Regions from separate parts of the Homo sapiens genome. Here region 1 is linked to region 2. The links are contacts of gene promoters, found by promoter capture Hi-C in blood cells and fetal thymus (Javierre and others, 2016). All regions are on one chromosome and are shown on one strand. The core of a region is centred on a gene start or on the middle of the fragment in contact, and the rest is flanking DNA. Distances in the headings are between cores, read along the strand shown. Region 1 has its middle 25 kb from the start of IFNGR1. Region 2 holds the start of MAP3K5 (mitogen-activated protein kinase kinase kinase 5).

Region 1 (7,323 bases), core at 694-3,193, 450 kb before region 2:
TTTCTTCATATGTAAAGTAAGGATTATAATATACACCTAAAAGACTATAGTGAGAATTAAATTCAGTAAAGCATGTGCCTGGGTCATCCGATGTACTCTGTGAATGGTAGCTCTTGCAGAATTATTAATTTTTGCAACAGAGTCTTCTAAAAAGATGCAGAAACCTTAATTCCATAGGACCATTTCTCATATCAACATTCAAGAATGTCAAAGACATTCAAATAAGGCAGATTAAGTTACATTAGTAAAGGCAACTTTACAAAGAGTTACACTAAATAATTCTGGTGATCTAATTTGATATTGTGATTTAATTTGAAACAAGCTAGAACCTGAAATCGTACTAGGGGTGAATGGTTAATATTTTACTTAAACTGTCATCAATATCAGCTACCTTAATTGCACTTTCCTCATGAATTGAGTCAACTCGAAACTGAGCTTTTGGGTGAATTCATAGAATACAAGTATTATTTGTTGTAAACTGAGACTAGATGCACAGGTTCCAGATGTGTACATGGCAAACTTTACTTCTTATTTGGAAATTATGAAGTATGTTTTGCTTGCTAAATAAGTGGGAATTTGCTCCAATCTTGTAAGGAGGGGGAAAACAAGGGTAGTGAAATTCATCTCCCAGAGAGCACTTCTCCTTTTGCTTCCTAGAATATCACCAAGAAGGGCATGTAGATCTTCCTTAAAACAGGATGAGAGAGTTTTTGCCTCACAATCAAAACTTCTGCATTCAGTTTTACAAAGCTCACTCACAAACAATTAACGGTGTTTGGGTCAAAATTGAGAAGTTAAAGTATTTTTGAAATAACAAATCCCAAACAACAAGCAAATGTATTAAAGGATTTGTTCAAATCAACCTTTTAGTAATCTGTTCTTCTCTTTAAGTAGCACTTAACTGCTGTAGCACTGAGAAATAATGCTGTCACAGTGGTGTGCAGCCTGCTCTAGCTGCTCATCCAAAGTCTTATTTATTTAGCGGTCATTTACTTCACAGTTATTATGCACTAAATTATACTAGCTTAAGTATAGCATACTATATATTTATATTTATATTTTTCTAACATAGTTTTTCCTCACAATGAAACAGACTTGTCCTTCATACTAAACTTGGTGAGGCAGTCCAGGTCAGTGTTCTAGGACAGGTGCCCCCAGTCCCCAGGCCGTGGACCAGGGCCAGTCCATGGCTTGTTAGAAACCAGGCTGCATAGCAGGAGATGAGCGGCAGCGAACATTACCGCCTGAGTTCCACCTCCTGTTTAAAAATTAAACAGAAAAAAACAATTTAAACATAAATAAGTCTAAAGATCATAGACAAAGTGGTTTTCCTTTTTTTTAGTTTTTTATGTTTTTTATGATCAGCAGGTGGCATTCAATTCTCCTAGGTGTACGAACCCTATTGCGAACTGCACATATGAGGGATCTAGGTTGCATGCTCCTTATGAAAATCTGAAGCCTGATGATCTGAGGTGGAACAGTTTCATCCCGAAGCCATCCCCTGCCCTCATCTGTGGAAAAACTGTCTTCCACAAAACTGGTCCCAGGTGCCAAAAATGTAGGGAACTACTGTTCTAGGACATACCTTAAGCATCTTAAGGAAGGGAATATAAAGATGCATAAAAGATTCTAGTTCCTCACCAGATGGTGAACTAATGCTGAATACCATCATTCCTCCCCAAACTGAGCCCAGAAGTGTCATGGTGAAAAGAAAGTGGATGATGGATCAGGACATAAAGACTCTGAGAAACCCTAGTCAAGATAAAAAAGCCTGTATCCCAGGGTTGGAGCAGAAGAGACCACAGGTGCAGCAGGCGGGGATGGGCTGCGGAGAGCTTTCTGGTGGTGGCCATTTCTCCACCACGTGTGCCCTGCTGGATCATCACCAGCCAGGATCTATGGCACTTGTCAGAGGCTGTGGCATCACATCAGGACAACCCTGAAACCAGGTCACTGAGAAGAGTAACAGCAGGCAAGGCAGACCAACTGCTTCCTGATCATTCTTCCCCCAGTCCCACTCAGGCCACCCCTTGGGACCAGGAGATGACAGCCCAGGAGGCAGCTTTGGGGAAGACCTGTGCAAAGTGAGATTCAGAAAGGTCCCCTGAGCAACAGGATAAGGAGTGTTGAGGGCATAATAAACGAACCTCACCTCACATCAGAACTCTCCAAGCTGAGAAAGTGCACACACGCTCACTCCTTAAGCATACTTGGAAAAGCAAAAGCTAGGATGTAAGCCTCTATCCCTTCCCTCAGGCACACACAACAGCCAACAGCAATGTGTTAGCTTCCTGGGCAAATAACAGGGTGTTTGATGAGCCATGCACACTTCTCCTGAACTTACCAGTTGTTGTTTTATATAGCTTGATTGATGCTAGATTGATTGGTGCATGAATGGGTAGGGAAAAATAAAACCCCAATATATAGTTGAAACAGACCCCTATTACAAAACACAGATTAACAAGAGAAAAACAAACAGACATTTATTAACATGTATATTTCATATATACGTGGAAGATACCCAGAGAATGAGTAACTCTCAAAGAGGTGTTTGGAATTTCTGCTTCTACGATGAAGAAGTGAAGGAAACATCATCCCCAAATATAACAAATTGGTATATTTTGAGCTAAAAAACACTGGAAAAATTACAGTTTCAGAAAAAGTCTAGTTGCCCTGTCTTTTCCTGCATGTAGCAAGCCAAAAAAGATTCTTTTGGGAGGGCTGCCTTCTCCTTACCTGGGTAAAAGAATATTCGTTATCACTGGAGACTGAGATTTGGTGCTGCAACAGGCCTAGGTAAATAAACTTCTGGAAGTAACCCTTATCTTCCACTAGTTTTACATACTCCAAATACCTCCTAGTGACTCCCCTAGAATGTACTATCCCTAGCCAGATCCCCTTTCCCCTGTCATTTCTTCACAAATTTATTGTTGTTTATCTAAAAAGTATAAAAGCATCTTACTTGGGCCGCTTCTTGAGGCTTCCCTCTCTTGTGAACATCCCCATGTGAATGTAAAATTAACAAAACTTGCATGCATTTCTCTTTTTATTCTTCCTGTCTAAATCCTTTTAGGGGCAGGGAATGTATGTCAAGACTTTTGTATTGAGTGATACATTTTGTAGAATGGAACAATCCAACCGAGGTAGGCCCACCAAGGGCTCAGACACTTCAGGAGTGAAGGTTTGAAAACAATCAAGGGCCGGGCATGGTGGCTCATGCCTGTAAACCTAGCACTTTAGGAGGCCAAGACAGGTGGATCACTTGAGGTCAGGAGTTCGAGACCAGCTTGGCCAACGTGGCAAAACCTCGTCTCTACTAAAAATACAAAAATTAGCAGGCGTGGTGGTGCACACCTGCAATCCCAGCTACTGGGGAGGCTGAGACAAGAGAATCGCTTGAACCTGGGAGGCAGAGGTTGCCGTGAGCCGCGATCATGCCAATGCCCTCCAGCCTGGGCAACAGAGCAAGACTTTGTCTCAAAAAAAAAAAAAAAAGAGAAAGAGAAAAAAACTAGAAAAACAATCAAGTGAAAAAAGCATTTAATCATATAAAGAATCCCAAGTAGCTAAGGCGCTGGCTAAAGGTAAAGGGAACATGAATGGGTAGGAGGTGAAGGAAAGCATAAATATCAACTAGCTTTGAGATAATTTGCAACAAGAAGTACCAGACTGCCCCACAGGTATTGTTGTATGGCTGGGGGGGAGATTACTTGTCATCTTTGCGCATCAGTTACCTGGCCTATAGGATGCAAGCTGAGAATAATCATGTCTACTGTGCGAGGTTATTTTCAGGATTATAATCAAGATATAAATATTTGGCACTTAGTAGGGGTTCAGGACATGATGATCATCCTGTAGATAAGAAGTAGGATATAGTGTAGAGGGCTAAGAGCAGAGACTTTGGGGTTAGAGTAGAGATTGGAATCTCATAAGTTTACAGACCTGGTGCACGTTGTTTAAGTTCTCAAAGTCTTAAATTTTCACTTCTTCAAAATTGACTTAGATATACTTATTTAATGGTGTTCTAAGTAACATACAATAGGTAGAATATAGCACTTGATAGTACTCAAAAATAGTAGCCATTATTTTTTAGTGAGGTAGCGTCCAAGTTTCTCAAATCAAGTAGGGAAACACACATAGGCAGATGTGTTCAATACAATGCCGTAAGTGGGGAGAAATCGATAGGTAACCAGGGTGCAATGAGAACAGGAAGAGTGGAGATAGTGGGGAGCATCTAGCCCAACCTGGTGATGCTGTTAACAGAACTATATCCAGAAAGGTAAACATAAATGTGCTCATGGACCCAGACATAATCAAGGAGGGAGCTGGGACTGGGATCCAGAACTTCCAACCCTTGTATCAATTTATTTTTGTAACAAAATGTTATATTTGTATGAGATATAAAATAAATACAGATTACTTATTTTTCCTACTCAGAATTCTTATACAAAAGATAAGACATAACCATCACATAATTACACCTTTCAGGGAGTAATAGCTAAAATATAAGATTTTCTTGTTTGAAACTCTTATCTCTCATTCACATCTTTTAAACACAATACCACACAGTAGGACCCTTAATAGTTACATGAGCTACAACGGAAGACAAAAACACTAATTAACTCTTTGAACAAAGATTTCAATGTCTTTTATATACCAGGTACTATTCTAGGTGCTAAGCGTACATAAATTAATAAAAACACAAAAAATTATAGGGAGAGACAGTAATAAATAAGTAAAATATATAGTACTGTCTGCTTTTATGTTATTAATGGTAAAATGGGCCTGTATAGTGATAGCATGTATTTCTCTACTTCCAAATCTTACTGCTTAAAACATAATTGTTTAAATATATATTTTAAAGTTAGAGTTTGTCACAACTGTGTTTTCTGCAGATCCACCCTCTGAGAGAGGCGACTGTAAAGGGACTCTGTAGTATACGTTAGGGAAATAATAAAGCTGGAGCTATGGTTGAACAAAGAGAGAGGATTTTCTAATTAGTTAAACTATATATATATTAGTTTTAACAGGGAAACTGTAAAGCCTTTCATAGGCAGATACAATTGTCTCTTTTACTTCCATGTGGCAGGAATAATAAAGAAATTCCAATTTTCAAATTTCAAAGGGAATGAGACCCTCCGGGAATTACCTTAGAACTAAGACTTGAGGAAGCCTTAGAAAAAGTGGCAAGAATTTTAATATTCAAGAATCTGAAAGTAGCAAGAAAAATATTAGGAATTCTGACCTCATGAATTGGGTAGAATCCTCAAAGCCCTGAATCTGTGCATAGCATGGGAGAATTTGGGGCAAGACGTATTGCGATTTAGAGTAAAGCTAAACAAGTATTTTTCTAAGGAAGAAATGAAGAATGAATGGAGCACCAGTATCTGTGAAATAGGGATGAGAATGGTAATTATATTTAAGTTTTTGTATTTCTTTGATTCTTGTTCTAATTATATTTTTCAATCACAATCCCTATGCTTAAAGCTTTATGATTTCCTTAGAAGCACATGACAAAAAAAAAAAAAAAAAAAAAGGCAGAGCTCTTATCTGAATCTTATCTCTAATAAGGCCAGTGGTGACTCCTCATCTGGACTGTGAACAAAGGCAAAGTTGATTCTGGTATGTCCTCATTTCAACACACAGGTATTCCCAGCACAGAGCTGGTACATTCCATTTTGCTTTAATCTTTTTTTTTTTCTATTTTGCTCCCTTGTGGGATCCAACGAGCTGGTAAATTCTAGCAAACACAGAGCAATAGCAATTGTCACAGCCAGTCAGGATAATCTACAAGCAAAAAGAACTTCCAGGAAGCCAACATAATTCTCTATAAAAACCCTCAAATATTTGACTAATGTACCATAGACACTGTACAAATAAGCACAGTCCCGCATTGCTGTCTCTGGCTAGATACAGAACTCTTTCATTGCCAGTTAGCAATGAACACTAAAAGTGAATATAACGCAATGTGTGTCCCACATCCTGATCAGCCATTTCTAATAGGCAGTACAGGAGTACTAAGAGAAAGACTAGGTTAAGGAACATTCTTTTCTGGTTTTGAAAAATCATAACCAGAAAAGCAACTCATGTCCTAGGGATAATGAGTCAATAGTAAAGACTTTTTCAGTGGCAGATAGAACATTTATTTGGGGCATCTTTCCAAAATCTAAAGTTCATATCTTCTGGAATGTCAAAGTTAATGGAACTTGAATAAGAGCCTTTGTCGCCTCTCTTTCTTGATAACTATGGCTGATGTTTTTGAAAAGTTATCCCTAAATATATCCTTGTATAAAATAATAGAGAATAAAGCCATTATCCAGTTTTTGATAAAGAAACATCTAGTATAAGGGTTAAAGGGTTCACTTTAGAGACAAAGTGAAGGAAATAAGTCATGTTGCATACGCTAGTCTCTATAATAAGAACAGGCTGCCAATCTGAAGCATTTCTATTCGAAACAAAAAGTACAGCTGAACAACAATTCAGAAACATGCCAGTTTTTCTCAATACCCAGAAATTTCTGTTTGAAACCATACTTTAAGTTATTCAAAAATGTTGTGCTGGCCGGATGCGGTGGCTTACGCCTGTAGTCCCAGCATTTTGGGAGGCCGAGGCGAGCGGATCACCTGAGGTCAGGAGCTAAGAGACCAGCCTGGTCAACATGATGAAACCCCACCTCTACTAAAAATACAAAAATTAGCTGGGTGTGGGGGAACGTGCCTGTAATCCCAGCTACTCGGGAGGCTGAAGCAGGAGAATGGCTTGACCTGGGAGGCGGAGGTTGCACTGAGCTGAGATCGCGCCATTGCACTCCAGCCTGGGTAGTAGAGTAAGACTCTGCCTCAATTAAAAAAAAAAATTTTGTACTCCAGCTGGGCTCAGTGGCTCATCCCTGTAATCCCAACATTCTGGGAGGCCGAGGTGGGAGGATCATTTGAGGCTAGGGGTTCAAGACCAGCCTGGGCAACAAAGTGAGATCCACTCTCTACCAAATTTTTTTTTTTTTAATTAGCCAGGCATGGTGATGCATGCCTGTAGAAGCAGTTACTCAAGAGGCTGAGGCAGGAGGATTGCTAGCCAGGCATGGTGATGCATGCCTATAGTTACTCAAGAGGCAGAAGCAGGAGGATTACTTGAGCCCAGAAATTTGAGCCTGCAGCAAGCCATGATTGCACCACTGCACTCCAGCCTGGGCAGCAGAAGGTGACTCTGTCTCAAAAAAGAAAAAAAAAGCGTTCCTTGGAACAACAGAGAAACTTTCTTGTAATGTCAGCATAAAATAAAGCACATGGTGTAACTTCCCCTCAACCAAACCACAAACAATTA
Region 2 (6,786 bases), core at 634-3,133:
GCCTCTCGAGTAGCTGGGATTACAGGCGGCTGCCACCACGTCCAGCTAATTTTTGTATTTTTAGTAGAGACGGGGGTTTCACCATGTTGGCCAGGCTGGTCTTGAACTCCTGACCTCAAGTGATCTGCCCGCCTCGGCCTCCCAAAGTGTTGGGATTACAGGCGTGAGCCACTGCGCCCAGACTTTCCTTTAATTCTTTACTATTCAGCTATTTTATCCTTCCTTCTTACCCAGTTTGAAATGTAATTCATGGCTGGGCTGGGTGGTTCACGCCTGTAATCCCAGCACTTTGGGAGGCCGACGCGGGCATATCACCTGAGGTCAGGAGTTAGAGACCAGCCTGGCCAACATGGTGAACCCCACACCCCTCCCCCTCCCGTCTCTACTAAAAATACAAAATTAGCCTGGTGTGGTGGCGCATGCCTGTAATCCCAGCTATTCGAAAGGCTGAGGCAGGGGAATCGCTTGAACCCGGGAGGCAGAGGTCGCAGGGAGTCGAAATCGCGCCATTGCACTCCAGCCCGGGCAAGAAGAGCGAAACTCCGTCTCAAAAAAAAAAAAAAGTAATTTACATTTTCTTCTGCCTTTTTCACAGGACTCACTAGTCTCAGTTCCTGGAGATGGGAAGTACAAAACCTGTTTCTTTACTCAGTTGTAACTTGCACTGGCTTTCCTAACAATTACAGCATTCTGGGGTTCTCTGGGAACTTACACATCTGTTCTTTGCTCCCCAAATAAGCAGGTACTTTTTTTGATTGCTCTTAAACAATCTGGGTATTTCCCTCCCGGCCTCGCGTGATGCAGTTTAAAAAATAGAATAGGTCACGTTATTCCCCTGTTTCATCTTGTTGATAATTTGTGGAGTCGGGTAGAGACTCCATCTTCTATCTTAAGTATCTGGCGCTTGTGGGGGAATTAAGATCCTAAATGAGAATACTAAGTCCTTCGGCAGTTGGCACTAATCAATTACTCATTACTGATAACGGAATGAGCCACTGGAAATTTTAAAAGGAAAAGTACATGGGAGAACCTGATCAATTTAGCCAGCCACTTCTGGAGTGCCACAGTCACTAATGAAGCAACCTCCAGTGCAGGCCCTGGCTCCAGGGCGCTATGTACAACCTCCTGCCTCGCGCAACGTGGGTCTCCCGGAGCCTATCCTGCCAGCGCCGCGCACGGTCCCAGTCCACCAGGCCGCCAAGGCCCGGAGGGGGGCGCCCTAGTCGCGGGGAACACTGGAAATGCTTCAGGGGCGGACTCCGAAGACCGAGTATTGCCTCGAGGGACTTTCTGCGCCACCCCGTAATCGCTTGCGCTCCAGGTCTTCGTAGGTGGGGGCCGGGTGGGTGAAGACTGGGACCCTATGCCACGCGCAGCACTCAGAGGAGGGCTGGGGTCCCAGGGCCGCAGCGCGGTCAGTTCAGTCCGGGCTCGAGCTTCCTAGCAGCGCCCTCCTTGGGGGCTGGCCCTGACCCTCGGTGCCGCTACGAGTGGGTGGCCAGAAGCTGGTGGTGGAGAGGGAGAGCGTCTGCAAGGAACGACGAGGCTGGCGCCGGGACCACGCGGCGGAGGCGATCGAAAGAGAAACGAGGCCAGGCAAGGAGGAGGAAATCCACCCGATGAAGGCGAGCTGCCGCCTAAGAGGGAGGAGGGTCCTTTCGGCTGCCGCTGCTGCTGTTCCGGGACGCCGCCTGGGGAGCCAGCCCGCTCGTAAGGTGCGCGCCAGGTAGCTCCGCACCCAGGGGGCGCCCTTCCTGGCCCCTCCCAGAGCGGCCGGGACGGAAGGAGCTGCGCGGCGCGGCGCGGCGCGGCGCGGCGGGTGGCGAGGGCGGGCTGCACCCCGAGCGCGGCGCCCTTGAGCTGCACCGCGGCGCAGGTTTGCGAGCCGACTTGTCAGCCGGCCAAGAAAAGGAAGCTCCGTCCCTTCCCGCTCACCCGGCTTCCCCACCCCTTGTACTCTAAACTCTGCAGAGGGCGAGCGGCGCGGCCACGGAGGCGCCGAGGAGGAGCGAGCCGCCGCCGGGCAGCGGCGTGCCCTCGGGGGAGAGGGCGCCGGAGAGGAGGCGGCGGCGCGGCGGCGAGGGCGCGGCGCGCGATGGCAGCTGCTTAGCCCGGCGGGCGCGGAGCAGCCCCGAGCTGTGGCTGGCCAGGCGGTGCGGCTGGGCGGGGGACGCCGCCGCCGTTGCTGCCCGGCCCGGAGAGATGAGCACGGAGGCGGACGAGGGCATCACTTTCTCTGTGCCACCCTTCGCCCCCTCGGGCTTCTGCACCATCCCCGAGGGCGGCATCTGCAGGAGGGGAGGAGCGGCGGCGGTGGGCGAGGGCGAGGAGCACCAGCTGCCACCGCCGCCGCCGGGCAGCTTCTGGAACGTGGAGAGCGCCGCTGCCCCTGGCATCGGTTGTCCGGCGGCCACCTCCTCGAGCAGTGCCACCCGAGGCCGGGGCAGCTCTGTTGGCGGGGGCAGCCGACGGACCACGGTGGCATATGTGATCAACGAAGCGAGCCAAGGGCAACTGGTGGTGGCCGAGAGCGAGGCCCTGCAGAGCTTGCGGGAGGCGTGCGAGACAGTGGGCGCCACCCTGGAAACCCTGCATTTTGGGAAACTCGACTTTGGAGAAACCACCGTGCTGGACCGCTTTTACAATGCAGGTGCGTGTGTGACCCCTTTCCCATCCCGCGCGGTCGGGACCCGCGTTTAATCTGGCGGTCTTCGGGGCATTTCATTTTTCTGGGCGGGAAGCATTTACTTCTTGCCCCACTTTGGGGGCAGCGAGCGCCGCTGCGTGACTGCTCCTGTCGCTCGCCGCTCCGGAGAGAGCGTGTGTGCTTGTGCAAGAGTCTGTGTGTACTTGTGCGATAGACCTATGGATCCACCCACCGCCCAGCGCTGGAGCCCTGGGTCCATGCGATCGACTTGAACTGTTCTCCAGCAGTGTGAGATATTTGCCCCAGTCAGTCTTTCTCCTTTCAGTGTCTCGGTTTCGCTTCTGTGAGGTTTGGTCCCTGTTTTCTTTCTGCATATACCTGTGACCGTTTTAGATGAGGTTCTCCTTTTCTCTGTGTAGTTTTGAGAGTACGGGAACGATGACATACCATGCACGCAGAGTGTAACTATATTAATTTGCATGCCATGTGATGATCTTCCCAACTCACCTTACCTTCGATAAGTTTTAGTAGCTTGAATTTCCTCTCACCAACCCAGACTTTGAAGTAATTACAGTGCTTCCAAAGGCAATAACATTACAACTTACACTGAACTTGTGTGTTATCTTTGTAAGGATTTTGGTGAAAGAACCAGGGCCTGTTTTTTATTACCCCATAAACCATGGTGGGCTAGAAAGTTTGTAATTTAACATTGTCTAAAACACCTGTATGCTATCCTAATAATAAGATTAGTTTCGCCATTAAAGTGATTGCTAGCATAATCCATGAAAGAAATGTATCTTTCAACCTATCTCAAATTTCAGAAAATGTTAAGGCAGTTCTAGTAACTGAAGCACTTAGCTGTTAGCAAATGTTAGGAATAATACCATATTATGGAAATTAACCTTTAGTCCCCTGTACGTCCAGTGTTGAGAATATATACATATTTATGTTTACATTTGTGGGTAAAAACTTGGTTTAGTAGTTTCAAAACAATACACTTCTTGCATTTGTGATCACATAAAAGGCTTTATTTTCCAATCTTGTTTTCAATTCTGATTCTCTTTAGTGTCTTCCAAACACCTGAAGTGGGCTTATGTCAGTTTTGGAATTCAGCCAAAGCTGAATATTTTGAGAACAACAAGACCTTCATGTTAAGGAAGCCAGACTAAATAAACTAGGACTTTCTCGTTCTGGTATTTTTAAAATAGTTTTGGTCTTCATAACTGAGCATGGCTATAATATAGCTTGATTCTTTGGGTAGCTTGCTATAAAAGTTACATCAACATAACTTTTCTAAAAATTGTAGCACTCTTATTTTTGGATTATAATTTGGAAGAAACTTCAAAGAACTAAAAGATATGAGAGGAAAATACCCAACTGAACACTTGAGCCTATTTTTATTGCACTGATTGGGCGTTTTTTTCCTAGGGCTCTAGAAAAAAAATGTTAAACTCTAAGCTAATTTGAAAGAAACTTTCCTAACAAGGCTTGGTTTCTGTTATTCTCCAAATACTGTCTCTGGGAAAGGGAGAGAGAATGATTAGAAGGGAGCTGAAGTTTGAGTGTATTTCATTGAATCCTCCAAACAAGCCTGTGAAGGAAGTACTTACCTTCTTAGGTGAGAAAACCCAGGGATCCCTAACTGGCCCTAGGATTCATAGGGAGTAAGTGGCCAATGCAGGATTCCACTTCAGGTGGCTGACCCTAAAAGGTTGTGCTTGGGCCAGGCGTGGTGGCTCACGCCTGTAATCCCAGCACTTTCGGAGGCCAAGGCGGGTGGATCACCTGAGGTCAGGAGTTCCAGGCCAGCCTCCTGGCCAACATGGTGAAACCCTGTCTCTACTAAAATGACAAAAATTAGCCAGGCATGGTGGTGCACACCTGTAGTCCTAGCTACTCAGGAGGCTGAGGCAGGATAATCACTTGAACCTGGGAGGCAGAGGTTGCAGTGAGCTGAGATTGTACCACTGCACACTCCAGACTGGGTGACAGAATGAGACTCTGTCTTAAAAAAAAAAAAAAAAAAAAAAAAAAAAAGAGGTTGTGCTTGGCCCTTGCTTCCTCCATTTAGGTGGGCTGAGTTACTCTCAGAATCAAGGGAAGCTCCCTATCTTGGAATCATGTGAGTGAGCTGGCAAAGATCTTACCAGGCATTTAGGTGTGTATGGAATAGTGGGGAGGGCATGCTCTCGGAAGCCTCTTTTTCCTGCGCCCACTCTGTCCCTTCGTACTGCTTCTTTCAACCTAGACAGGTCTCAGTTTAACCCCTGCCCATCTGGATGGCATGAACTCCCAGGATGAGTGCCCTCTCAGTCAGCATGAAAGCATGAAAATGTGACAGAATGAAGGTAGTGCATCAGTTTTATCCAAACCCTTTGTTTCTATTTTATTTTATTTGTTTTAGAGACAAGGTCTCACTCTGTTGCCCAGCCTGGAGTGCAGTGGCATGATCATGGTTCGCTGCTAGCTCGAACTCCTGGGCTCTAGTGATCCTCCTGCCTCAGCCTCCCGAGTAGCTGGGACTACAGGCATGAGCCACCACGCTGGGCTAATTTTATTTTATTTTACTATGTTTTTTTTGTAGAGACGGGGTCTTGCTATGTTGCCCAGACAGGTCTCAAACCTGGCCTCAAGCAGTCCTCCTGCCTTGGCCTCCCAAAGTATTGGGATTACAGGCGTGAGCCACCGCACCCAGCCTCCCATCTTTAAGTTTACTTGTACCCAATGTTTAGCTCCCACTTATGAGTGAGAACATTCAATATCTGGTTTGGTGTCTTTTTGGTAGAACAATTTATTTTCCTTTGGGTATATACCTAGTAATGGGATTGCTGGGTCGAACGGTAGTTCAGCTCTTAGTTCTTTGAGAACTCTCCAAATTACTTTCCACGGTGGCAGGACAAATTTACATTCTCACCAACAGTGTGTAAGTGTTCCCTTTTCTCTGCAGCCTCGCCAACATCTGTTATTTTTTGACTTTTTAACAAAAGCCATTCTGACTGGTGTGAGATGTTATCTCATTGTGGTTTTGATTTGCATTTCTCTGATGATTAGTGATGATGAACATTTTTTCATAAGTTTGTTGGCTGCTTGTATGCCTTCTTCTGAGAAGTGTCTGTTCATATCTTTCGCCTACTTTTTAACGGGGTTATTTGTTGTTTTGCTTGTTGATTTGTAGACCTTTCTTAAATGCGTAGTTTGTGAATATTTTCTCCCATTCTGAGGGTTGTCTTTGTACTCTCTTAATAGTGTCTCTTGTTGTGTAGAAGCTCTTTAGTTTAATTAGGTCCCATTTGTCATTTTTGTTTTTGTTGCAATTGCTTTTGAGGACTTAGTCATAAATTCTTTCCCAAGGCTGATGCAGAATGGTATTTCCTGGGCTTTCTTCTAGGACTCTTATGGTTTGAGGTCTTACATTTAAACCTTAATCCATCTTGAATGAATTTTTGTATATGGTGATAGATAGGGGTCCAATTTTATTCTGCATATGGCTAGCCAGCACCATTTATTGAATAGGGAGTCCTTTCTCCATTACTTACTTTGTTGACTTTGTTGAAGATCAGATGGTGTTAGGTGTGTGGTTTCATTTCTTGAGGTCTCTTTCACAACTTCTCAACTCTGCCCTATTACTCAAGAGCAGCCATAAACAGGACCTAAACAAATGATCATGACTATGTTCCAACCAAACGTTATTCGTGGACACTGAAATTTGAACTTCATATACCTCACAAAGTATGATTTCTTGTTTTATAACCATTTTAAAATGTAAAAACCATTCTTAGCTTGCAAGCCATACTCAAAAACAGGTGGCCCACAGGATTTGGCCCCTGTGCCATGCTGACCTTTGCTCTACACCCATGACCTGTACTTGAAAGTTGAATTTTTATGAGATAGTGGGAAGAACATGGTCCCTCATATTAGATCCGAGTTTTCATCCCAGCTCTGCTGTGAACCATGTAATTGTGAGAACGGCCCTTCATTGCCTCCAGTGGTGTTTCTTTGCCTGTAAAATTGACCAGGGTTAGAAGTGAAGGGGGAATTGAACACATTTTTTTAGGATTCCCTTATTTAATCCTGTGAATTTACAAAGGCAAGGTGGCATGGGATGCAGGCACAAAGCATTAGAACAGCATTTTCAAGGT

What was found. Contacts are between HindIII fragments. The CHiCAGO score rates a contact against its expected background, and 5 or more counts as called.
Region 1: a contact is called between a fragment that was not itself captured here and the fragment with the promoter of MAP3K5 in region 2, in 1 of 17 cell types (neutrophils). The highest score is 6.2, in neutrophils.

Annotation. Positions count from the first base shown.
Region 1 is chr6:137,240,225-137,247,547 of GRCh38, reverse strand. No RefSeq gene overlaps it. Among named protein-coding and RNA genes, the nearest start is that of IFNGR1, 25 kb to the right of the region's middle. The HindIII fragment of the contact is 7,093 bases long and covers 1-5,489 here.
Region 2 is chr6:136,787,574-136,794,359 of GRCh38, reverse strand. It overlaps MAP3K5 (mitogen-activated protein kinase kinase kinase 5), which reads left to right and starts at 1,883. Exons shown (of 30, transcript NM_005923.4): 1 at 1,883-2,650. The coding sequence starts at 2,203. RefSeq lists enhancers at 803-882, 1,253-1,312, 1,423-1,652, 2,443-2,512, 2,618-3,133 and a silencer at 1,673-2,312. The HindIII fragment of the contact is 11,326 bases long and covers 1-6,786 here.